7 separate regions of the Homo sapiens genome follow, and all the other regions are linked to region 6. Evidence: promoter capture Hi-C in 16 types of primary human blood cells and fetal thymus (Javierre and others, 2016). All regions are on one chromosome and are shown on one strand. Each heading gives the region's core, a stretch centred on a gene start or on the middle of the fragment in contact. The rest is flanking DNA. Distances are from core to core; before and after follow the strand shown. Region 1 overlaps AGTPBP1 (ATP/GTP binding carboxypeptidase 1). Region 2 overlaps TUT7 (terminal uridylyl transferase 7). Region 3 has its middle 9.0 kb from the start of TUT7. Region 4 overlaps ISCA1 (iron-sulfur cluster assembly 1). Region 5 overlaps TUT7 (terminal uridylyl transferase 7). Region 6 holds the start of NAA35 (N-alpha-acetyltransferase 35, NatC auxiliary subunit). Region 7 overlaps AGTPBP1 (ATP/GTP binding carboxypeptidase 1).

The links. The method cuts DNA at HindIII sites, captures the fragments that hold promoters and counts their contacts. A CHiCAGO score of 5 or more calls a contact.
Region 1: a fragment that was not itself captured here is called in contact with the fragment with the promoter of NAA35 in region 6 in 9 of 17 cell types (total B cells, naive CD8 T cells, activated CD4 T cells and 6 more); the score reaches 10.4 in total B cells.
Region 2: a contact is called between a fragment that was not itself captured here and the fragment with the promoter of NAA35 in region 6, in 7 of 17 cell types (total CD8 T cells, naive CD8 T cells, naive CD4 T cells and 4 more). The highest score is 7.9, in total CD8 T cells.
Region 3: a fragment that was not itself captured here is called in contact with the fragment with the promoter of NAA35 in region 6 in 6 of 17 cell types (naive B cells, neutrophils, activated CD4 T cells and 3 more); the score reaches 7.4 in naive B cells.
Region 4: a fragment that was not itself captured here is called in contact with the fragment with the promoter of NAA35 in region 6 in 11 of 17 cell types (total CD4 T cells, naive CD8 T cells, naive CD4 T cells and 8 more); the score reaches 8.7 in total CD4 T cells.
Region 5: a contact is called between a fragment that was not itself captured here and the fragment with the promoter of NAA35 in region 6, in 10 of 17 cell types (naive CD8 T cells, naive CD4 T cells, total CD4 T cells and 7 more). The highest score is 12.8, in naive CD8 T cells.
Region 7: a fragment that was not itself captured here is called in contact with the fragment with the promoter of NAA35 in region 6 in 1 of 17 cell types (neutrophils); the score reaches 5.6 in neutrophils.

Annotation. Positions count from the first base shown.
Region 1 is chr9:85,608,069-85,611,504 of GRCh38, forward strand. The region is part of intron 17 of AGTPBP1 (ATP/GTP binding carboxypeptidase 1); the gene reads right to left. Among named protein-coding and RNA genes, the nearest start is that of AGTPBP1, 130 kb to the right of the region's middle. The HindIII fragment of the contact is 355 bases long and covers 1,801-2,155 here.
Region 2 is chr9:86,320,602-86,324,296 of GRCh38, forward strand. It overlaps TUT7 (terminal uridylyl transferase 7), which reads right to left. Exons shown (of 27, transcript NM_024617.4): 13 at 2,272-3,359; 14 at 1,724-1,874. Among named protein-coding and RNA genes, the nearest start is that of TUT7, 32 kb to the right of the region's middle. The HindIII fragment of the contact is 3,186 bases long and covers 825-3,695 here.
Region 3 is chr9:86,361,739-86,365,104 of GRCh38, forward strand. No RefSeq gene overlaps it. Among named protein-coding and RNA genes, the nearest start is that of TUT7, 9.0 kb to the left of the region's middle. The HindIII fragment of the contact is 3,744 bases long and covers 1-3,267 here.
Region 4 is chr9:86,264,191-86,267,676 of GRCh38, forward strand. It overlaps ISCA1 (iron-sulfur cluster assembly 1), which reads right to left. Exons shown (of 4, transcript NM_030940.4): 4 at 356-2,001. The coding sequence ends at 1,853. Among named protein-coding and RNA genes, the nearest start is that of C9orf153, 6.3 kb to the left of the region's middle. The HindIII fragment of the contact is 527 bases long and covers 1,864-2,390 here.
Region 5 is chr9:86,302,568-86,305,811 of GRCh38, forward strand. It overlaps TUT7 (terminal uridylyl transferase 7), which reads right to left. Exons shown (of 27, transcript NM_024617.4): 23 at 2,625-2,672; 24 at 2,289-2,380; 25 at 519-634. Among named protein-coding and RNA genes, the nearest start is that of ISCA1, 22 kb to the left of the region's middle. The HindIII fragment of the contact is 3,720 bases long and covers 1-3,244 here.
Region 6 is chr9:85,939,306-85,942,565 of GRCh38, forward strand. NAA35 (N-alpha-acetyltransferase 35, NatC auxiliary subunit) reads left to right here and starts at 1,841. Exons shown (of 23, transcript NM_024635.4): 1 at 1,841-1,968; 2 at 2,850-2,978. The coding sequence starts at 2,855. RefSeq lists a silencer at 1,745-2,424. The HindIII fragment of the contact is 5,629 bases long and covers 1-2,865 here.
Region 7 is chr9:85,556,713-85,559,991 of GRCh38, forward strand. The region is part of intron 25 of AGTPBP1 (ATP/GTP binding carboxypeptidase 1); the gene reads right to left. Among named protein-coding and RNA genes, the nearest start is that of AGTPBP1, 180 kb to the right of the region's middle. The HindIII fragment of the contact is 1,685 bases long and covers 548-2,232 here.

The sequences.
Region 1 (3,436 bases), core at 728-3,227, 330 kb before region 6:
AGGCCTTCAGCATTACTAGAAGACAGAATATAACAAACTTTAAATTGTTTATAAATAGTAAAATGAGCAAAGATATAGAGGATGGAACAACAGAATTGGGGTTGAAATCTTTAAAGTAGATTTTAGAATAAAAAATATTTAATGAGAAAAAGGAGGAATTTTATAATGACAAAGTCACAATTCATAATGAAAATATAATAATACTTAATATCAATGCATCTGATAAGATCAACCTCCTACATAAGGCAGAAACTACAGAAGATATAAGCAGAAATCGACAGGGACATACTATTGATATAGTCTTCAAAACACCACTCTCAGAATAAGATAGAACAATTGAACAAGAAAACAAAATATAGAGAACCAAATGACATAATCAATGTGGCAATTTTTACATCTAAATGTCAAATGTCTCATCCTGATACAGATGAAAAATATATCTTCTTATGTGAAGAAGATATATTCTTTATTATCTTCTTCTCAACAGCACATGATACATTCATAAAAATTGATAATATATATGACAATATATTATCAGCAAATTTTAAGCAAAGATATCTTCTTTGCTTGGAATTTGATGATAATATATTAAGATATAATATAAGATGATATAAGTAATATATCTTCTCAATAGCACAATACATTCACAAAAACTGATAATATATTACATCACAGGGAAAACAACACCAAATTTCACAAAACAGAAATATTACAAACTCTGGTCACAGTGTACTAAAACTAGAAATTACAAACAAAATGAAAAAAACAAACAGGGAGGGAACCCACGCAGGAGGATGGAAGGAAGAATAATTTGGGATATCAGACCCTCAATAGGGTGGAGGAAGGCATCTGTCCAAATAGACAACAGGGAGATTATTACATAAACTGGAATTGATCAAACAAGTTAATATATTACGGACAGTGGGGCCCAAAATTATCTCTGTTGGAGAAGAAAGTTGTAAATATGGAAAGAAAACAAGAATAAAGCCTGTGTTATTTGCTCGAAAGTTAAGGTATAAGTATAATCTCATGGAGTGTATGTGTGTTTGTGTGATTATATACACACATACATAAATATGTACCTACAAATATGGAAACCACTACAAATGTGAATTACTGTGTAAATATTATGTATGTATTAAATATACTCCCTAATTGTTCATTGAGATAGTTTGTAAACAGTAATAACCCAATAGCAATGTGTATACCAAGTGTACAGATCTTTTTTTTTTTTTTTTTGAGATGGAGTTTCGCTCTTGTTGCCCAGGCTGGAGTGCAATGGCATGATCTTGGCTCACTGCAACCTCCACCTCCCAGGTTCAAGCGATTCTCCTGCCTCAGCCTCCCAGGTAGCTGGGATTACATGCAGGTGCCAGGCTCATTTTTGTATTTTTAGTAGAGACGGGGTTTCACCATGTTGACCAGGCTAGTCTCAAACTCCTGACCTGGTGATCCGCCTGCCTTGGCCTCCCAAAGTGCTGGGATTACAGACGTGAGCCACCGCGCCCGGCCAGATCTTGGTTTTTAAACATCATTCACTACTAAAGTAAAATGGCACTCTTTGAAGAAATGGCAGATTTCATTCAGGGGTAGAGAAAAGCAAGATGGGCCTTGTGCCAAAAAGCAAGGGCACCCATAAGGAATGACAGGGATATCTCAAAAGGGCACACACACCAGCATTAATGGTATCCCACTGGCCAAATCCTGGACAATTTGAATATCAAAATAAATAATGATAGCAACAAATTATAACTCATTGAGTCAAATAGGAAACCCAGTCTATACTGATAATACATTAAAAGCTTGAGAAGGAACAAGATATTTAGATAGTCTCAAAGTACCTCAATGTATAACACTAATTACAAAGAGAAGAAGGAAATGTAGGAAAGCCACACACCTAAATAATATTAAACTGTAAAGAGCACCCCAAAAGGCAAAAATGTATGAGGAACATTTGTCAGGGGGACTAATCCATTCTAGGGAGGCAGAGGAGACTTGAATTAACTAACGTGGGCAAAGCGGTGAGAATGCTACAGACTAGACTCCAAAATTGTACTTTATTGCCTGGTTCCAAACATGTTCAATTTATGTAAGAAGGCAGTTGAAAATCCTCAGAAATCTGAGAGAAACAAAGATGGAGAGAAAGTGAAAGAGAAGCTTGGTACTGAAGCTCCAAGTCACTAAAATGCAAGACTGCCATCTGGTGGTAATTTCAGCAAATCCCTTCCAAGTAATGGGGGGGTAAGAGGGGGTGATGGATTGAAACAGACACAGCACTATTTAGTGACACACATTCTCAAATTCAGTATTTCAAAGGCAGTATTCTCTTTACAATTGAAAATACAGTGTGAAACATAAATATTTTTAAACTGCTTAATTTTAAGATCATTCACTTGTGAAAACCACTAAGTATTCAATAGAATCACTTTTAAAAAGCTCAAAGAAAAGGACAACTTGAAAGAGAAGCAACTGCCAGCCTGTTCCTTTTTGGGGACACTGCCAAAGAACAAGACCTCTATTGGGCACATTTTCTAGAATCCAACACTTAAATAGTACCCCAACCGGCACGCCCCAATCAAAAAAAAAATTACAGACAATAAGCTACTCTCCTAACTGATACTACTTCCTCATTTCAATCATGTCTGACAATTAAATAAATACCTCCAGATGAAGAAGTTTCCACTGCACATACTTTCTTTGGTCATCAGCCCCCACCCTTAAAATGAATTATTGCTAGTTATAATTGCTTACAATGTTAAATTCTAGTTTACCAAAATATTGGTCCCTTTCTTTTAATTCTGTTAATGTTAAGACAAACCAAGATTTGCTTTATGTTGTACTGACCTAACAAATCTAAAGATAAGTTTAATAAAATATTACATCTACCTAAACAGCTCCCATAGCTTCTACTAACTTCCTAGTTAAATACTTACAAATACATGGAAATAAGAAGAAAACTCACAATAGACAACTTATCATCAGAATCTGGAAGGAATCTCTATTAAACTTAAGGCAGATGGAGCAAGACTGAAAAATCCAATGCAGAATATGCCTCGTGATCTGTATCTTGTGGTTTAGGGGCTTTTCTTTTTTTTTTTTTTTTTTTGCATTTTACATTTTGGATTCCACAGCTAAAATAAGTGTCACACTAAATAAAAAATAAAGAAAACAATAAAGAAGTACAAAAATAGAAAGCATAAAAACCCAAACACATCAATTGTAAGAATTTTAAACAGGTTAAACTCCTCTATTAAAAGACAAATGATCAAACAACAAAATCCAACCTCTTATTTATGAAAAAAAAAGCAAACATACATCAAGCAAATTCAAACCAATATAAAAACAGAATTCAAGGCAAAAGATGCTGAATGAGATAAATGTGATAATTTTATACTATTAAAGAGATATGCAAAAGGAAAATGGAAAACTTACAAAA
Region 2 (3,695 bases), core at 1,168-3,667, 380 kb after region 6:
TGGCCTAGGTATACTTCTGGTGATGAAATATTATTAACTGCCATCTAGAAAAACATTTCAAAGAATGCCAGCTGGGAAATGCTACTACTCTAATTTTAAGACTTAATAAAAGATCCTCAGCAAGGCAACTTTCGGCCCCTCACAGAGACAGTACTTTGAAATTCATATTGAGATTTTACCCTCTCTTCCAACGATTTTGGGAAAATTATGAACTGAGACTCTTCAGAAAATATCTTTCTTCTGGAAAAAAATGTCGCTCCCTTACCCTCATCCTTACTTTGTATCCTGGCTTATAACAGGCCATGCATTTTTGTAGCAAACTTTTCAAAAACAATTATATAACCTGGTCCCTTCTTTCTGGGGCCTGGATCTGCTTACACAGCAGGAAGAATAACACCACCAACCTTTACATAGCCCAGCTAGCCAGGGAAGTGTGTCCAGGCTTCAAGTAACTTGAATTTTAATTTTTGGCCGGGAGCGGTGGCTCACGCCTGTAATCCCAGCACTTTGGGAGGTCAAGGCGAGCGGATCACTGGAGGTCAGGAGTTTGAGACTTGCCTGGCCAATATGGTGAAACCCCATCTCTACTAAAAAAAAAAAAAAAAATTAGCTGGACATGGTGGTGCATGACTGTAATTCCAGCTACTCAGGAGGCTGAGGCAGGAGAATTGCTTGAACCCAGGAGGTGGAGGTTGCAGTGAGCTGAGATCGCACCACTGCACTCCAGCCTGGGTGACAGAGCTAGACTTTGTCTCAAAAAAAAAAAAATTTTTTTTCTTGGCAGAGTAATGGAAAATTTAAATGGGGAAAGATATTTAATACTAAGCTTTAAAAAGAAACCTGCTGGCCAGGCGCCATGGCTCAAGCCTGTAATCCCAGCTCTTTCGGAGACTCAGTTGGATGAATCACTTGAGGTCAGGAGTTTGAGACCAGCCTGGCCAACGTGGTGAAACCCTGTATCTACAAAAAATATAAGAATGAGCTGGGTGTGGTGATGCATGCCTGTAATACCAGCTACTTGGGTGGTTGAGGCAGAAGAATTGCTTGAGTCCAGGAGTTAGAGGCTGTGGAGAGCTGATATTGCGCCACTGCATTCCAGCCTGGGGGACCGAGCAAGACCCTGTCTCACCATCACCCTCCAAAAAAGGAAACCTGCTATGATTGCTATGTATCTTGATGCAACAACTATGCTGTTAATAAAAGGAAGTACAGAAGGCACTTGATATTAAAAGAAAAATAAAAGATCCTCCATTTGCCTGAGCCCAGGAGTTCAAGACTAGCTTGGGTAACACAGGGAAACTGTGTCTCTACAAATAATGAAAAATTTAGTCAGGCATAGTGGCATGCATCTGTGCTCCCAGCTACTTGGGAGGCTGAGGTGAGAGGATTGCTTTAGTCTGGGAGGTCGAGGCTGCAGTGACTCATGATTGCTCTGCTACACTCCAGTCTGGGTGACAGAATGAGATCCTGTCTCAAAATTTAAAAAAAAATTTTTTTTTAAATAAAAAAGATCCTCCCTGCATCTCTCCTCATCCTTCTTTGACATTTATTGCATGTCCCAAACAGAACAGACATGACATGGAACGCTTGAGGATACAATGGAGAATGGAATAGACTTGGTCCCTAATAATGTTTAGAGACCTAAATAGGATAGTGATTCTAAAGACTCGAGTAAATGTCAATTTAATATTTTGACAAATCAAAAGAAATGTGAATAACTTACTATAACACTGGATACAGACTTGATCTAAGATATTTAAAAACTTGGGTGTTAATGGTGGCAGAGGTTCTAGCTGGATTCTTTTGAAGTCTTCAGGACAGTCCTTCTTTAGATGACCCTCTCGTTTGCATAAGCTGCACACTACCGTAGGAGACTGCAGGAATATGGCAAAGCAAAACAAGACTTAACACTTTATTTGCCAAATAAAGGAGTCTGGAATCATGTTTTAAAAGTACACAGTCACCTATTCACTTTCCAAAGGAAATGAAAATATAACATGCATCCACTCAAATGATCTGAGAGATGGGGACATCCTATAGTATCATTAGGAGAACATAGTGGCTATTTTCACTACTAATAGCATTCCCTTCCTCTGCTAATTCCCATGAGTCTTAAGGAGAAAAGCAGACCGAGCAGTCATATCAGAATGAAAGGCCAACTTGTTCAACACTACCAAAATAGGAAAATTCCTAGTATATAAAAATTGAAATTAAATGCATTCAAAGTCCTTAAAGTCTCCTAGTTCTATGACTAGTGGTGGTACTGATTACCTTGCCTTTGGTGAAGATAAGTTTACTGAATTCATAAAAAAAATCAGACTGATCCACAGGTGAATTTTTTTCTTCACATACATTTTCTTCCTTGAGACTTATTTTATTAAGTTCCACTAGGAGAGCTCTTTCTACATGTTTTCCACATTCTTTCACGTCTTCATACTTAGCAGCTTCGCCTAACTCATCATCCTCTTCAGATAGGGCGTCCTCATCCCCTGACCCAGTGTAGGTGTTGTCTAACTCATCTTCATTAGCCATGCCATCTTCATCTTCCCTTTGGTTAATGGTGAGCCTAGGTTCTTCTTCCTCCTCCTCTTCTTCGTCGTCCTCCTCCTCTTCATCAGAGGGAATCATTTCTGATGTCTGGCCCTGTACTGAGTGGGTAAAGTGGTTTAGAGAGTCTTCTAGTTCCTCAGTACCTTCTGTACTTTCTCCATCAAGATCAGCCTTGTTATCTAAAGTGGCAAGTCCCTCACACTCTTTAGCTGTGGGATTTTGGAAGCCTTCTAAATCCAAAGTGCTCTCTGACTCATTATTACGTGTGCTGCCACAGACAACATGCTCTCCACGTTTCTGATCAACAGTCAACAGATGCTTGCCCTTCCTTCCAACTTTCTCTTTCTCGTTTTTCCTTCCTGTTTCTGGATGGTATACTTTATCACCCTTGTAATCATCAGAGTTAACATCTGCTTGGATACAGTCTGAGTTTTCAGGGTGGACACTGATGTGTTCATTTCCCATTTCTTCTTTTGGTGGGCTTCCAAAACTTTCAGCAGTCTCTTTAAGAGTAAGTGGCTGTACCTTACAGGTATTTGCAGCTGAACTGGTAGCACCAGGACCTTGGGCCAAAACTGAGTTTTTGAGCTTATCATCTTTTGTTTGTACATCTGGATGATGATTTATTACTTCTTTAGAATGTTCTGAAATACATGTAATTGCATTCAGAGGCTTTAGAAGGCTGGATTTTGTAATTTTGTGTGGAAGAGCAAAATACTTGTATGTTGTCCTTAAACAATGAAGTATATATTCAAACACAGGTTGACTATTTAGGGTTCTTGCCACATTTCTTTTAACAGAGTAGGGATCTGTAATAAAAAAAAGAAAGAAAGAAAAATCCATCTCTTCATATGTTACTATATTTCATGTTTTAAAAATTAGCCTGCTGCAGATAAAAACAGACAACAAACAATGGTAAAATTTATCTTGCATTTTATAGACTTAAAAAAAAACTGGGGGTGGGGAGTAAGAAAACAGAGTTTAAGAACAAAAAGCAGTATTTTCTGAAACATCGGCTCTATGAAGGGAACCCATTCTGTTCAGAACCAGTACCCCTTCTCCCTATTGTGCTCTGTGACTGTGGAGGTAGAAAAGATGTTATCAGCGTGGCTCTCAGGCCCTTGGGAAGGAAGATCTTCCCACCA
Region 3 (3,366 bases), core at 146-2,645, 420 kb after region 6:
TCTGGTATTCCCCATGGGACTCTAATTGTGTCTAAATAGATGTGAGAGTCAAAAGACCCATAAGGGGCTTCTCTCGCTTTATGATGTCTTATTTTTCCTTCCTCTGGTTGATGAAATGCCAGGGTGAAAGGGATAGCCAATTGAACTAAAGCACAAATGCCACTTCAGTTATTTGTCAGAGTGTCCAGTAAAGGTCCACCACAATACCACCACATATCCACTTGGGGATGAACAAGGGCTGACTGATTGATAAGCTCTTGAAAATTCTTAAGCTCACTGCATCCCTTCAGGTCTCCAAGGAACGCTGTTTCCTCCCTGTTGTGAGAGACATGAAGTGAACTTAGTGTTGGGAGACGGAAGCTGGATAGCCCTCGGGGGCTGACCCACAGGGTGCCAGACTTCGGGATATAGCAGAGAGGGAGCTTGGCACAACTTATTACTCTAGGCTGTAGAATCCTGGAAAAGAGCTGCCATGCAGCCTATGCCTGGTCAAGTGGAGGGTCACCCTAGTGGAAAGGGGACAGTCTGGGACTCTGGCCTGCTGTGCGTACAAGCATAACAATTGCTTTTGTTTAATGTGCGGACGGAATATTTGATCTATTCCACCAGGCATTTGCATCTTGGTATCCTTGGTATCTTTGGTATCTTAATTGCCAAAGTTTATTTTAAGTCTTTAACTTTTATGATCCTCTAGTAAAATGAATGTATGGTTTAAGGAAATTACAAAAACCGGTTGGGGCAGTCCATCCTTGCTCTTCAGTGGTCCACAGAACGTAGGACCAACTACGGCATAAAAGCTCTACATCGGGGGCAAGACTCCTGGTTGACACTGGAGTTTTATCGACATCTCCCCGGATTAAATGCCCAGTCTGAGGCCCAGTCTGAGGAGAGTCAGGAAGGACAGAGGTACTTTTTTGAAGTAGAGAGCTGTCTTTGACTTGGCAAGTCCCCACAGGGTATAACAAAGCAAGCATCAAATGCAATAGTTTGAGGCGAAATTGACTTTGTTATGTTATAACTAGACGGTCAGCAATAGAGCGAAGAAAGAAGCAAGAGTAATTGAATAGATGAAAGAAAGTTAAATTTTTCTTAGCTTTAGTTTGGTAGGGTTTTCCCCTGGGACCATGGCCCACGACTCTGGGTGGGGGGGCGGGGGTGCGGGGGGGGTGGCCCTTTCTTGACTCACGTGTGATGAGTCCATCCTCTTTTCGTTGTATGAACAGCAGTCCCGGTGGTTAGCAGCCCAAGGTAGGGTCCTTCCCAGGCTGGCTCGAGTTTTCTTTCTTTCCACCCTTTGATGAGAATGTGATCCTCAGGCTGGTGCTGGTTTACTGGAAATTCTAGGGGTGGTACCTGTGCTAAAAGACTTTTAGTTTTGGGGGAAAGGAAAGAGGAAGATAAACCAAGTATATAAGGTCTAAGAAATTGATCTTTTGTTTTAAATGCAGGGACATCAGCATTGGACATTATAGTCCTTGGTGCCTTCTTATTAAGAAATTTCCTTTAGCACCTATTTTTATTAGTTTTTAGACCAAAGAAAGCCAAACACCATTTTATATTTGACAATGCTTCCTGTATGACTTTTATACCAGATAAGCTAAATTTCACCTTTATATTAGTGTGCTATTAATGTTAAAATCAATTTTAATAAAACCGTGTAGACATATTTATCCAATTTTAACATCTAACCATAAGATAAGATTTTCATAGACTCTTTTTAACCTTTTATAATTTTTGTTAAAGAGCAGGTTAGTGCTTTAAGAAAAATCCATTGTGCTTTTATTTTAATGTCCAGTTCACAGAAAAACTGGATGATACCTTTTTAACTTTAGCCAGTGTGTTTACACACAGAATTTCCTTTATAATTAATGTTTTCAAACTTGCTTAAACCTTCAAAACAAAGTTTTTTTTTCACCTTTTAATGTAGGTAAAAATCCACATTCTTATGCCTCTTTATAATTCTTTTACTAAAAGTATATTTTACTTTCCTTATACACCTTGCACATAAACTGTTTCGTCAATAGTTTTACATTCAGGACGCCTAATTACTGTTACATTATACAACATTTCTTGCATAAATTCCCTTTTATAACACATTTTTTTTCACGCTTTACAATATCTTATTTTTCCTTCCTCTGGTTGATGAAATGCCAGACAATTCTTTGACATGCCTCAACTTTCTGACTTGTTGCAAATGTCCCTTTCTTTAAACAAACAATTTATTTTAGGACAAGAATTTACCATATAACATTCTTTTTACATAAATTCTCCTCCCCCATCCTTTTTTTTTCCCCAAAGATGATAACCATTCTTTTCCAAAGCGAACTTCCTTCGGGTCTGTGGATTAGATTGCCTAAGGCCACAAGATTAGAAGTTAGGATAATACATGTTACACTGTTAACTTTTAGCAAGTTTTGCTTTTGTTGAAAACCTTGTGAGTTTGGGATTTCAATTATCCTTTGCTGTTAATAAGACCTTGTTTAGTCCAAATTAACTTAGAATTGGTATAGATGGTTCCTTCCTTGTTCTGTAAGTACTTTAAGGCTTGGCTGAGTGCAAACAGCTCACACGTTTGAGCAGACCAACTGTTGGGCAATTTTCTTAACTCTATTTCTAAGAGAGTTTCTCCATCAATCACTGAACACCATTGTGTCTTTTTCCCTCAATCACCAGGGAGGAACCATCTATGAACGAGTGCCGTCCAGTCCGGAAGGGGGTTTCTCCTGGGTCTGGTCGAACCTTTGTATGGTAATCAATTAAATCTAAACATGTATGTTCATTCCTTAGATTTGGATTCTTTGTCAGGAAACTTGCTGGGTTGAGTGAATTTTCAGTGGTCAATGTTAAATTATCCTTTTCTAACAGAATGGCCTCATACTTAAAGATTCTCGAGTCAGTAAGCCATCTCCCTGCTCTTTGGTTTAAGATAGTTCTAACTTGGTGAGGCTTGCTTACTGTCAATTTTCCTCCAAAATGCTTTCCTCCACTAGTATTGCCATAGTTGCGATGGACTGAATGCATTGAGGCCATCCACAAGTGACTGGGTCTAAGACCTTTGATAGGAAGGCTACGGGCTGCCGGTGGCCTCCCTGTTCTTGAGTCAGCACTCCTAAAGCTACCCCACTGTCCACATTAACAAAAAGGTGGAATGGCTTTTCTAGGGAGGGTAAGGCTAAAACAGGGGCAGTTATGAGCCTTTTCTTCAGCTTCTCAACTTGATCAGCTTCCTCAGAAGTCCACGGGAGATGGTTAGGCTTCTCCTGGGCAAGCTTTTGATATAACAGTTTACTGTGCAGTGCATATGAGTCAATCCATAAGTGGCAGTATCTGACTAACCCTAAAAATTTCGAGTTCTTGTTTAGTTTG
Region 4 (3,486 bases), core at 877-3,376, 330 kb after region 6:
CAGCTGAGAACCTTCTTGGAGGAGGTTCACATAAAAGCTCAGATGACAGAGGGAAAAGCACTCCAGGTAGTGATAATGCTCTCGTCCTAAGGACATGAGGAACCTGCTTGGGGGATGGATGACCCTCATGGGGAACAAGGAGGAAAAAGAGGCTAGCAAAGCCAGGGAGATGAGAGACACCTGAGATGGTCTCTCCAGGGCTGTGTGGAGAATCAGCAGCTAGGACTCTGGACGAAACAGTGTCAGGTAGGGAGGACGCCTGGTGACAGGCAGCCTAGGCAAAAAAGACAGTCATTTTTTTATTGGCTTTAGCAGCTGCTGTCCCAAACCCTCTCCCCTCAATAATAAAAGGCAATTTTATGATCACAAAGAGGCCACATTTTTTTTAATTGACAACTCAATCTCTACATACATACAGTGTTGCACGAATTATAAGTGGATCAACAATTATATTATTGATACAAACTCATGAGCATTTACATAAAACTACCGCTCTAGGTTTTGGTGTGTTTTGTGTCAGCTACTTTAGTGAATAAACGAAACATAAAGGAACTCAGCTACTTGAATTCATGAGAATCAGCTTTCAAAAAAAGCATATATATCATCTCATAGAATACTTATGTCAAACCCAGGAAAATCAGTAACTAAGTGACAAAAGGAACACTTTTAAAGAAAAGTTGGTGATAAATATGTTAGGCTAAAATACTAAGAACTTTAGCAACTGGACCGAGGAACCAGAAAATGTATGCACACTGGGAATTTTAACAAAAGATTACACATTCTCCTGTACAGTGAGGACCACATTCCAAAAGCATAATTCTGGGTTGCTACAATGTCATCTCTGCTACAAACCATTGTTTCAAAGGTGAAAGAAACAAGATGGTAATTGACATAAAAAGGTTTTAAAATTCTTCCCACTCAAAATAAAATAAAAATAATATAATCTCTATCAAATTATAAAGAAATTCTATCAAAATGTTGACCACATAAAGAAGTCAGACCATTTGCCTTCGCTGACTGCCTCAGAGGGCAGAGCATGTGTCACCTACAAGGGGAGAGGGGGGTAGAGTCCCTACTCTCCCCCGGCCTGTGGTGTCAGGGTGGACAGGAGCCCTTTGGCTTCCCTGGGGTTTTGCTTCCTCACATAGGGAATTGATGGAGGTGGGCTAGATGGCTTTAAGAGACTTCTCAACTAAAAGAATCAAAGTCAGCTTGAGAGCCCATCTCTGAACAGACATATAGGGTGGCAAAAGAAATGGATTAAAAAAAGGCGGATGACGTCTTTCTCACCTTTTGATACCATCACTCAGAACTAATCTGTACTATAGTTGAAGAAAATCTTTGCCTGGTACTATTAAAGAGTATGCAGTGAGGCAGCTGACAATGAAATTTTTCATAAAAATGTATAAAAAGGCTATGTTAAGTTTGGGTGGAAAAAACAATGCACCACCATATTACTACCAGCAGTCACGATGTCCTGTCTCAGATTTTAGGAGTCACCGATCTGGTTGGGAGAAATGCTGAGGGATGATCAAGCCATCAATAGCGATCTAAGGAGTGCACACAGTTCAGGAAATGGATAAACAGGTGCCCAGGAAGGCAACTTTAATGAAACTGGTTCTAAAACAAAGGATACAAGAGACCTAAATGATCCAAAAAGAGTGATGGCTTCTCATTTTCTGTCCCCTATAGAGAATATAAATATCATTTCTTCTGGAATCCAACACACTGGATTCATTTTCAAGATGTATCACTTTATTTTCCAGCACGTGACAGTCACATGATTTCTGCAGTGAGCCCCAAAGCTTCCACGAGCTTTCCTGGAACCTACGGCCAGAAGAGTCCTGAGATTTCAAATATTAAAGCTTTCTCCACAGCCACAAGTCCCTTTGATGTTTGGGTTATTGAACACAAACTCACTGGATAATTTGTCTTCAACATAGTCCATTTCTGTTCCTAAAAGTGTTAGCTGTGCTTTCTTTTCGATGAATACTCTGACTCCTTGGAGAAAAGAAAACATGTGTCATGGAAAGCCTGCAGCCTTATGGAACTTGCTGATTCAAAGCACAAGTGAACTTGAAATAGTGACTATCAATGAAAGTCAAACAAGAAGCCTTGAACATTTTAAATTATTTCCTTAAGGAATTAAGCATTCAGTTTCCTGTCTGCCCCTTCTTTCCCACACATGAATTTATGTCACAATCACATTAGGGGAGAATTTTATACAAGTAAATTCCATGACAATTTTATGCAAAATTAGAATTTACCTTTCACTATACTTCACTCATTTTTCCAGTTTGCAACATGAAGAAAATGTATATTCTCGATGAGTTTTATGAAATAAAAAAAAATTTATGAAAATTCTGCAATACACTAGATACACGGATTCAAGCTTAAAGATGTACAAAGGACTGTGATACAATGGGGCTATTTTAATAACATCAATCAGTACAACAATAGTCTTTTCTGGTTACAGGACGGAAAACAGGTACTATTCCCTAGTAATTACACAGGTAGAGGTCAGCATCTTTGTAAATACAATCTTTTTTTTTTTGGACAGAGTCTCACTCTGTCACCCCGGCTGGAGTGCAGTGGTATGATCATGGCTCACCACAAGCTCCACCTCCCAGGCTCAAGCGATCCTCCCACAGGATTACAGGCACATACCACCAGGACCAACTAATTTTTTTAGAGTCAGGGTTTCACCACGTGGCCCAAGCTGGTCTTGCATTCCTGGGCTCAAGTGATCCTCCCACCTCGGCCTCCCAAAGTGCTGGGATTACAGGTGTGAGCCACAGTGCCCAGCCAACAAATACAATCAATTTAAGAAAGCTTTCTAGTCTGGGAAACAGGGCAAAACCCTGGCTCCACTAAAAATACAAAAATTAGCCGGGCACAGTGGTGGGCACCTGTAGTCCCAGCTACTCGGGAGGCTGAGGTGGGAGGACTGCTTGAGCCCGGGAGACAGAGGCTACAGTGAACCATGATTGTGCCACTGCACTCCAGCCTGGGTAAGAGAGCAAGACTCTGTCTCAACAAACAAACAAAACAACGAAACAACAAAAAAACTTTCTTCCTTACAAGAAATTGAGCCATTAGCTAAATATAAACAATATATAATTAAGTCACCTCTTCTTTAAGATGAAAATCTTAAGGTTTATAATGTGTTATAATTTTTAAAATAATACATTTTTAAAAGGTCTTTATTGATAGTTATAACTTTAGTTTAATAAGAAAGCACACTTAGGAATCTAGGCCTCATTCTCCCATGTAGGTAAGAACTGCAAGCTAAGTGCATACTTCCAATGACAAGATAAATTATTTATTTTAGATAGGTTTTAACAGATTATAGGGTGGAAGAAGGGGGCAGCAGCAAATATAATTAATTTTAATTATAAATTAAATTATAATAAATAGCTTTGAATAAAAATTGGAAATACAGGATTCCTCAAAAACATGAGTTGATAATACAGCTCCACTAAAAAT
Region 5 (3,244 bases), core at 154-2,653, 360 kb after region 6:
TTGGCCTCCCAAAGTGCTGGGATTACAGGCATGAGCTACTACACCTGGGCTTTTTTTTTTTTTTTCTGAGACAGAATCTTGCTCTTTTGCCCAGGCTGGAGTGCAATGGCGTGATTTGGGCTCACTGCAATCTCTGCCTCCCGGGTTCAAGCGATTCTGCAGCCTCAGCCTCCCAAGTAGCTGGGACTACAGGTGCCCGCCACCATGCTTGGCTAATTTTTAGTAGAGATGAGGTTTCACCATGTGGGTCAGGCTGGTCTTGAACTCCTGACCTCAGGTGATCCACTCGCCTTGGCCTCCCAAAGTGCTGGGATTACAGGCGTGAACCACTGCACCCGGCCTAAAGTCATGTTTTAAATCACTTCATTTCATTAAAAAATAAAATAAAAAACTTAAATGTATCTGAAAACTGCTGGATTTTACACAAGTGTATTTTCTTTGTTATAATAGTACCTCATTTAAAAATTGGGACATTAAGAAAATAAAAACACAACCAACCCCTTTGAACATTTACTTACTTTCTCCTCATAGGACAGTCCTTCATGAAGTGTCCGATTTTTCCACAAATTCGACAACATCTATCATTTGGGGCCAGCTCTCCTTCAGTTAACACATCTGGATCAAAAAAGTATTCCTAGAAGAACATAAATATATAAAAGCCTGAACTATTCACGTGAGATCGGAACACAAAACTAACCAGATATTAAACAGTTATCTTACAATTCAATGTTGATATAACATTACTTTTAATAAATATTATTTATACTGCTTAATTCCAAACAAAATCTAAGACCATCAAGGTCTAACTCAGGATAGTTTTAACTAAATCCATTTTTGTTTATTCCTTTTAGTCATGCAGAGCACTCGTGAGCCCTAACCCTAAAGGTTTAAGCACACTTCTAAAGAAGCGGATGAGTCAGCTTTTCAGGATGTGGGAGGGAGTTGAGGCCAGGTACACAGGCTTTGTCTCCTCATCAAATGAAAAGGCTAAAACATAATGAATTGAGAAACATGATTTGCATCATACAGATTATATTGAAGAAAAGAAAAAAAACTATGTGTTTCTACTTTGCTTAGTTGTGGCTGCTGAAGGAAAAATAACAGAACAAAGGAAAGATAATGGTCTAGCCTGTAGCCTCTTTGTACTAAAATTAAGGTGGAGGCCAGCAACATGAGCATCCCCAGGGAGCTTGCTGGAAAAGCAGTCTTGAGCCTGATCCTAGACCTGCTGAATCAGAATCTGCACTTTAACAAAATCCTCAGGTGATTTGTTCGAACAAGTTTCAGAAGCACTGGTGTAGAAGCCACATCAATATCTACCATAAATCAGATGTACAGATGTAATCAAACACTGAATGTGCCTATAAAGCAATACACTTACGTTAAATTTTAAAAGTCTTCACTGGGAGTACAGAGGGAATAGGGGGTTGCTGGTCAAAGGGTACAAAGTTTCAGATAGACAGGAGGAATAAGTTTTGAGATCTATTGCGCAGCAGGGTGACTATAGTCAATAATAGTGTATATTTCAAGATAACTAAGAGTAAATCTCAAATGTCTCCCCACAAAAAATGGTGAGGTGATATATATATGTTAATTAACTTGATTTCATCATTCCATATACATGTATCAAATCATCACGTTGTGCTCCATAAACTGTATGTCAATTAAAAATAAGAATAAAAAGTATAAGGAAATTAATGCAGAAGAACATAATATTATTCTTAGCAAGATCATCTAGTCCCTAGCCATTTTTCTCTCACTGAAATTATTTTTTTGACATAATTTTGCTTTGTTTTCAATAAATGTGGTTCCTGAAAAACTCGAGTATCAAGTTACATGAGAAGAGATAGCTGTCTGCTACAGGAAGCACTGTTAACCCCCTAGTCCCAGCAAAAGATTTACTACTTTTTGCAAGCAGATTGGAAAATCTAGATTCTAGATATGTACAAACTGGGCTTGGCCAAGGCTGGCATCAAGCCGAATGCTGGCAGAACAGCAATGCACCTATGAAGGCTAGCACAGATAACCAGAAAAAAAAAAGGCATCAAAGAGGAAAACAAGAATTTAACAACCTTAAATCCAACTTCTTACTATTTCTCTCTATTCTGATGGCCTCTACCCGGGGATGTTTAAGAAAAAGGGGGGCTCTGGGAATCATTCTGTACAATAGTCATTTACTTTGGCTAGACTCACAGACTTTCTAAATATTTAAGTTACTACTGAAGTGATGTGTACAAATTAGGCACTTTTTTTTATTTTTTATTTTTTGGTATTTCCAACACACTTACCATTTTTGAGGGGTAGTCCTTTGGAAATCCCTTGACAGGAATACCAAATACTCTTCTACCATTGATAAAAGCCTTCATTATAAAATTTGTCACTAAAAAGAAGAGTAAGAACTCACTTAGGCGGGTTAAAAGGAAAAGAGATTGTATTACAAATGACAAACTACCTGGGCCTGGTGGCGCCTGTTATTCTAGCACTCTGGGAGGCTGGGGTAGGTGGATCACTTGAGCCCAGGAGTTTGAGACCAGCCTGGGCAATAAAAGCAAGACCCTGTCTCTATTATAAAAGTAAATACATAAGTAAAATAAAAAATAAAATTGACAAACGAAGTAACTCACTTTTCCTTGATAATCCAGCTCCAAGATTATGATTCAAATCAAAGGGATCTAAGCAAAAAAATTTAAGAGCAAATAAGGTAATCAAATAGAAAATGCCACCATTCATCCAATAAGTAAAGTTCATAAAACAAGACAAGAATATCATCTACTTTGCTTATCATTAATAAGTTTTAAATTCACATGATAGAAAAGAAGTGCAAAAAAAAGTTTAAAATGACACCTGTTAAATGAGCTTAGAAGTTATAATAAAGCTAAGCAATACATATTCCTAAACAGAAGGCAAGTTTTTCCACTACACTGTTCATCAGAATAGAGTGTACTACTTTATATTTAAATCATTATAAAGCTCTTTATGTTATGACTGGCTGCCTATTTTTGAACAAAATACTGTTTGCAGAAGACACATTAGCCTGATATTACTTAATGACACTAGTTTTGGATGTATATAGAAGTTATAAATACATTTAAAACATTTTGGCACTAAATGTTCCCACTATGTAACAAATTTCTTAAAGATCACTTCAGAAAATAATTCATGATGGAGATTACAAAACACACTTATAAAACACACAGATATATACATCTGTCCCAATGGCATGCCATTGGCTACCTGGATCTTG
Region 6 (3,260 bases), core at 591-3,090:
CCAATTTTTGTGAAGTTCGGTTTACAAACAATAAAATGTACACATTGTAAGTATATACTTCAGTGAAATTTTACAAATGTATTCACCCACACAGGCACTACCTTAATCGAAAACAGAATATTTACATCACTTCAAATCAAGCTCTATCCAACTTAGTCTCTTCTTGAGCCCTGAGCAGCCACTAATCTGTCTTCTGTCACTATAGATGTCTTTTAAGAGCCTGGGGTCTCACTTGGGGAATCATACTCTTGCATTTGATTTCTTACTCTGTCGCCCAGGTTGGAGTGCAATGGCACCATCTCGGGTCACAGCAACCTCTGCCTCCTGAGTTCAAGGGATTCCCCTGTCTCAGCCTCCCAAGTGGCTGGGATTACAGGCGCACGCCACCATGCCTGGCTAATTTTTTTGTATTTTTAGTAGAGACAGGATTTCACCATATTGGTCAGGCTAGTCTCCAACCCGACCTCTCCACTGCCAGCCTCCCAAAGTGTTGGGATTACACGCATGAGCTACCAGCTACCAAGCTCAGCCTGATTTCTTTTACTCAATATATTTTTGAAATTCATTCATGTTGTATGTCAAGTAGTTTATCCCTGTTTATTGATAATTACATTCATTACATTGTATGGATATGCCACAAATTGTTTTTATTCAACAGTTGATGGACATTTGGGTTGTCTGTAGTTTTTGATGATTAAAAACAAAGCTGGGCCAGGCACGGTGGCTCATACCTGTAATCCCAGCACTCTGGGAGGCTGAGGTGGGCAGATCACGAGGTCAGGAGTTTGAGATCAGCCTGACCAACATGGTGAAACCCCATCTCTACTAAAAATACAAAAAACAGCCTGGTGTGGGGGCAGGCGCCTGTAATCCCAGCTACTCGGGAGACTGAGGCACGAGAATTGCTTGAACCTGAAAGGCAGAGGTTGCAATGAGCCGAGATCAGGTCACTGCACTCTAGCAGGGGCGACAAGAGTGACACTCTGTCTCAAACAAAAACAAAAACAAAGCAAAACAAAGCTGGTATGAACATTAACGTACAAGCCTTTGTATGAATATGTTTTTGTTCCTAAGTAAATTCGTAGATTACTGGATCGAATGATAAGTATATGATTATAAGGAGAGATTGTTAAGTTTTCCAAAGTGGTTGTACCATTTTGCATTACCACCACCAACATAACAGAGGTCCAGTTGCTCTGCATCCTTGCCAACATTTGGTATTATCTTTTCCATCTTTTAATTTTGGGCCATCCTAAAGAACAGGTGGTGATAAAGATGTGCTTCTTACCTGCGCCCGTCTATTTATGTAACCCCATTTAAAAACTGATCATTTTATTAATAAATTAAAAAAATCTAAAACATATAAGAATCTGAAATTAAATGTCTGGCTTGACTTTGCAGATATTTTGAATCTATGTTTCCTCACGAAACTCCCAGGCGCTGTATAGGAAACATAAATCCGTTGTCAGGCAGCAGTAGCACGCTGTTGCTCTCGGAGCTTGGCTGCTCGTTCGTGCTCGCAACCACTAAGGTCTACGCAAACCTCCACGGTTTCCTTCCGCCTTCGCGTCACCTTTCTAAGAAATTCCCAGAGGGCAGCGCAGACGGGGCGGGCTCTGAGACTCCGGGCTCCGCCTCTTTCCGGGAACCGCCCACTACCCAGGACTCCGACAGAGGGTGAAAAAAGATAACTTCCGGTCTCGCGATCGTCTCTAATCTCGCGAGAAGAGAAGGCGGCCGCCATCGGCCGAACGGAGGCGGTGGCGAGGGAGGGGGTGTGGCCGGGGAGCGCGAAGTCCCCGGGAGTAAGGGAGAGGGGGCGGGGTCGCGCGTCCCGGGCATACGCATGCGTGCACGCTGCCGGTCGGGCTGGGCTGAGAGGGGAGGGGGCGGCGGCGGCCGAGGCGGCGTCGTTATTTCCGTGGTCCGGACAGTGCGTGGCGGCGCGGGTGACCACGGGAGAAGTAGGTAGGGACCGCCCCTGCGTAGCCATTGAAACCCTCTCGCTCGTGTGTCCGAGAGCCGCAGCCCCCCGCGCGTGTGGCAGATCCTGGGGACCCCAGGTCACCCTGCGGCCCCGGCCCTCCCGCTGCGCGTCAGGTAGGAGCGGCGGGCTCCCCAGTGCCCGCTGTCGGCCGAGGCCCCACTCTTGCCCGGTGTTGCCGAGGCGACGACCCGGCGCCGGACGTGCCCGCCCTCCCGCGCGGCGACAGCTCTGTCCTTGCTTATGCGCCCAGTGGGACCGGGGCTGGGCTGGGCTGACCCGGGCAGGGCGGAAGGGAAGCGTGTGCCCGCCTCAGGTGTGCCTCGGCCCTAGGCCCGGCCGGCGGGACCCTGCGGTGCCTGCCGGCTCCTCATTGCTCCCGGCGAGGTTCTGCCTGGGTCCGGGCCGGCTCTGGCCCGGGAGAGGTCCCAGCGAGCTCTGGCCAGATGAAGGGCTACCTTGATTGACTTCGGTAGCTGCCGCATGGGGTCCTGGGCTGCGAGAGGGGACCCTGAATAGTGCCTTGGTCTTTTGTGGCTATTATTGAAAGTTGGAAGCTCTGGAGTTGTTCTTTTCGGGCCAGAGGTGAGATGGTTTGTGATTTTTCTTCTTAAACAGTAGGAAGGCAAAATGTTTATGGGCCCTGGTAGGTGGTGGGCTAATAGTAAGCAGCAGGAGTGTTAATTGACGTGCGATTTGATTGCATTAAGGTTATTCTTTGCAGTACTGTCCTTAGACTCAGAAGAGTTCTGCTTTAAAGAGTTTAGTTAAGACTTCATCCTATGCTGAAACAAACACCCATTTCTGCAAATACTCTTGCCCTGAAAGCTACATCCTCTCTCTTACATCAGTATTAATTTTACAGGCATAATGGTTATGAAAGCTTCTGTAGATGATGACGATTCAGGATGGGAGCTCAGTATGCCAGAAAAAATGGAGAAAAGCAATACAAACTGGGTGGACATTACCCAAGATTTTGAAGAAGCTTGTCGAGGTGAGTCTGATTTTTGGATTAGAAGTTCAGCATCTGGAAGGGGTAGAATGACGATTGTGCTTTCTAAACTTACCTCATTAGATGAAATCAACAGGTAAATGTGGTTTGTTGAGTTTGTTAGCCACACTTATTCTGTATCCTCTAATTTTAACTTTAAAGCAAATGTATATTTGATACAGCATTAAATACAGATGTTGAGGCAGTATTTTAAAATTGAATTTTTCTTGCTTTAACAGGTTAGAGAGAGCAGTAATTTCTAACTGTGGAAAACACTTTGTTAAT
Region 7 (3,279 bases), core at 140-2,639, 380 kb before region 6:
TACCAAAGAAGAGACATTTTATGATAAAGAGATCAATCCACCAGAATGACGTAATGAAGCAAAAGTTCTACACATCTACTATAATAATACATAAAGCAAAAATTGACAGAACTTAAAAGGAAAAGTGGACACATTCGCAGTGATAGGGGAAACCTGAAAACATCTCTCTTAATACCTAATAGAACAAACAGATCCAAAAACCATTACAATGTGAAAAATCTGAACCACAGATTTAAAAACTTGATCTTATCAGGAATATATGGAATCCTACAACCAGCAATTAAAGAATATACATTCTTCTCTAATATGAATATAACACTAAATATGTATTCTTCCTTATGCTGATATATTCTTATTTTGAAGTCTCAGACACTTATTGTGAGAGAAATAACTTTTTCTCCCAAGAGGCTACCAAAAATATAAATAGCCATAAACATATACAATCATCAAATTCCTTACATAGCTAAGTCTTCCAGACTAATAATCACTAATTTGATACCTATCTACATCTCAATTATAAGGATCATTTACTTATGACAAGGCTCAAAGCTTTCATTATAATCAAATCTGGTCTGGGATCCCGAGGTGCTCACATCAGTCCCAAACTTATTTATCTGGATGATTTCAATCTCTCTATTTGTGGGTACAACAGCATTTCATCTACTCAGCACAAATACAAATGGAGCACTTTTAGTTATAAGCAACTACGATTTCCAAAGTACAAGAAGGTATGATATGATCTCCAATTACATGACTTATCTGCCCAGAAAAATCTCAGTAGTAATTACAGCGCTAAGAATTTTCTATGTAGTAGCAATAAATGATTCCCAGAAATGCAAACCAGACTCAAGTTATGTGTACCACAGCTATTAGAAAGGAAAATCTTTTTTCTTAATTTGCTTAATTAAATGGTAAATTATACATTAAAAATAAGGCACATTAATACCAGTAAACTTTACCACATAGCTAAGTATTAGACACTACTGTTAACATTTAGCCAAGAATTACCTATATTAATTTAATTTTCTCAGAAGACAGAGTTCCTATATATGTATAAACAAACAAATACTAGCTTCACATAAGGAAAATACAGATAACAGAGGTTAACATTTCATTCTAGTGTTTGCTAACGGTCTATAGCAACTATTATCTTTGTACTATTTTACCAATATCTACCACTCAGTCTCTCTCATAATGCTGGGGACAGGACTACAGACTTTAGCTGAAAAATAATATGATGGTAACTGGTCCACAGACTCATAGTGTTCCCTATACCTTATTCGAAAAATATCAAAACATACCAAATTAGGTTTTTTAAAAATGTTAAAACAAAATATAACTAATGCTAAGTATTTTAAAGGCTTTCTTTGGCTTAAGTTATATTTATTAGTTGCATCAGGAACAATTTCTCATCAAATTTTCTAATGTCCATGCTGTAGGTATGAAAAGGAATTAAGTAGTGACACATGCTACAATATGGATGAACCTCAAAAGCATGCTAAGTGAATGAAATCAGACACATGAAGGTCACATATTGTATGATTCCATTTCTATGAAATATCCAGAATAGGTGAATCCATACAGACAGAAAGGAGATCAGTGGTTGCCAGGGGCCAGGAGTGACTGCTTAATTGGTATGAGGGTCTCCTTTGGGGGTGATAAAAAGGTTTTGGAACAAGACAGGGTGATTGATGGCTGCACACCATTGTCAACATACTAAATGCCACTGAATTGTTTGCTTTAAAATGGTTAATTTTATGCTCTGTGAATTTCATCTCAATTAAAAACTAGATCCAAATAGTATTTTTGATTATATGTCAGTAATTAGGCTTCATTTAAACATGGGTATATTTTTAATTATGATAAAACATTGTGTAGATATTGCTATCTTTCAACTTCACTTACCTATAATTTTTTTTGAGCCAAGGTCTCATTCTGTTACCCAGGCTGGAGTACAATACAACGACATGATCTCGGCTCACTGCAACCTCCACTTCCTGGGCTCAAGCAATCCTCTCACCTCAGCCTCCCGAGTAGCTGGGACTACAGGCACCTGTCACCAGGCCAGGCTAATTTTTGTATTTTTTGTAGAGACAGGGTTTCACCACGTTGCCCAGGCTGGTCTCAAACTCCTAGACTCAAGACATCTGCCTGCCTTGGCCTCCCAAAGTGCTGGGATTACAGGCGTGAGCCACTGCACCTGGCCATCCTATAGTATTTTAAACATGCTCAAGCTTCAAATACTTCATCCACAGACCTGATATCCTGAAATTTAGTCACCACTACAATATCCTAATAAATAACTATTAAATGTTTCATCAGTCTCATTCTCAAATCATTTAAATGAAGGTCACTGAAACTGTTTAATAGTTCAGATAATAGATAAAATAAAAATGACTTTTGCTAAGCACAAAAATACTACATAGCTATTTGCTTTTATGAGTCCTACCAGTATTTCCAGCTTTGACCTGAAAGAGAAACACCTACCCCAGGAAAAATGTAGTGTTGCATCAGATGGAATTTTTATTATACAACACAAATGGGTAAAATTAAAATGACTTTTGTTTGGCAATTACCAATAAATGCCCTGGGAATATATAACATAATGAATAGTCGACAGTGAGCATTATTGAAAAGAAAGTTCTATAACTTCTGGTAAACACAGAGGATCTAACAAAAGCATTTATTTCTGATCCCTTCTCAAATACTACTAAGATGACAGTAAAAAAAAAAAAAATCTTTTTTTTTTTTAAGGATAAATTCATAGGGAGAAAATAAATTCAAGAGGAGGTAACGATGAGACAGGAATAACACAGGGTGGTCACAGGAGAATAGAAAATTCCAGGCAGCAGTTTCACATGACCAGCAAAAAAGAAACTGCTGAAATGGCTGCAGAAACTAGGGACTGATAAGACCCTGAAAAACCAGGTTGACCAACTGGACCCAACATAGCACTGGAATTGACCTAGGTTTCACCTAGGACCTCATCATATGCTCATGAACATACTAAGTCACACACCCACCAGTGTCATGACAGTTCCAGGAACACCCATATTTGGTGTAAAAGTGGGTAGCACAACAGTTCCGAGAAATCTCCACCTTTTCCCAGTTATCTTCACGAATATTCCACCTTTTGATTAAAGAAATCCATAAAGATAAAAATCCCAAACCCCACTGTGGGACTGTCTCGACTATGCCTGCAGTCCCCTTTCTTGAGTGTGTACTTTTGTTTTGCAATAAATCTCCGTATTTTCACTATTTTCTGACTCATCCTTCAAT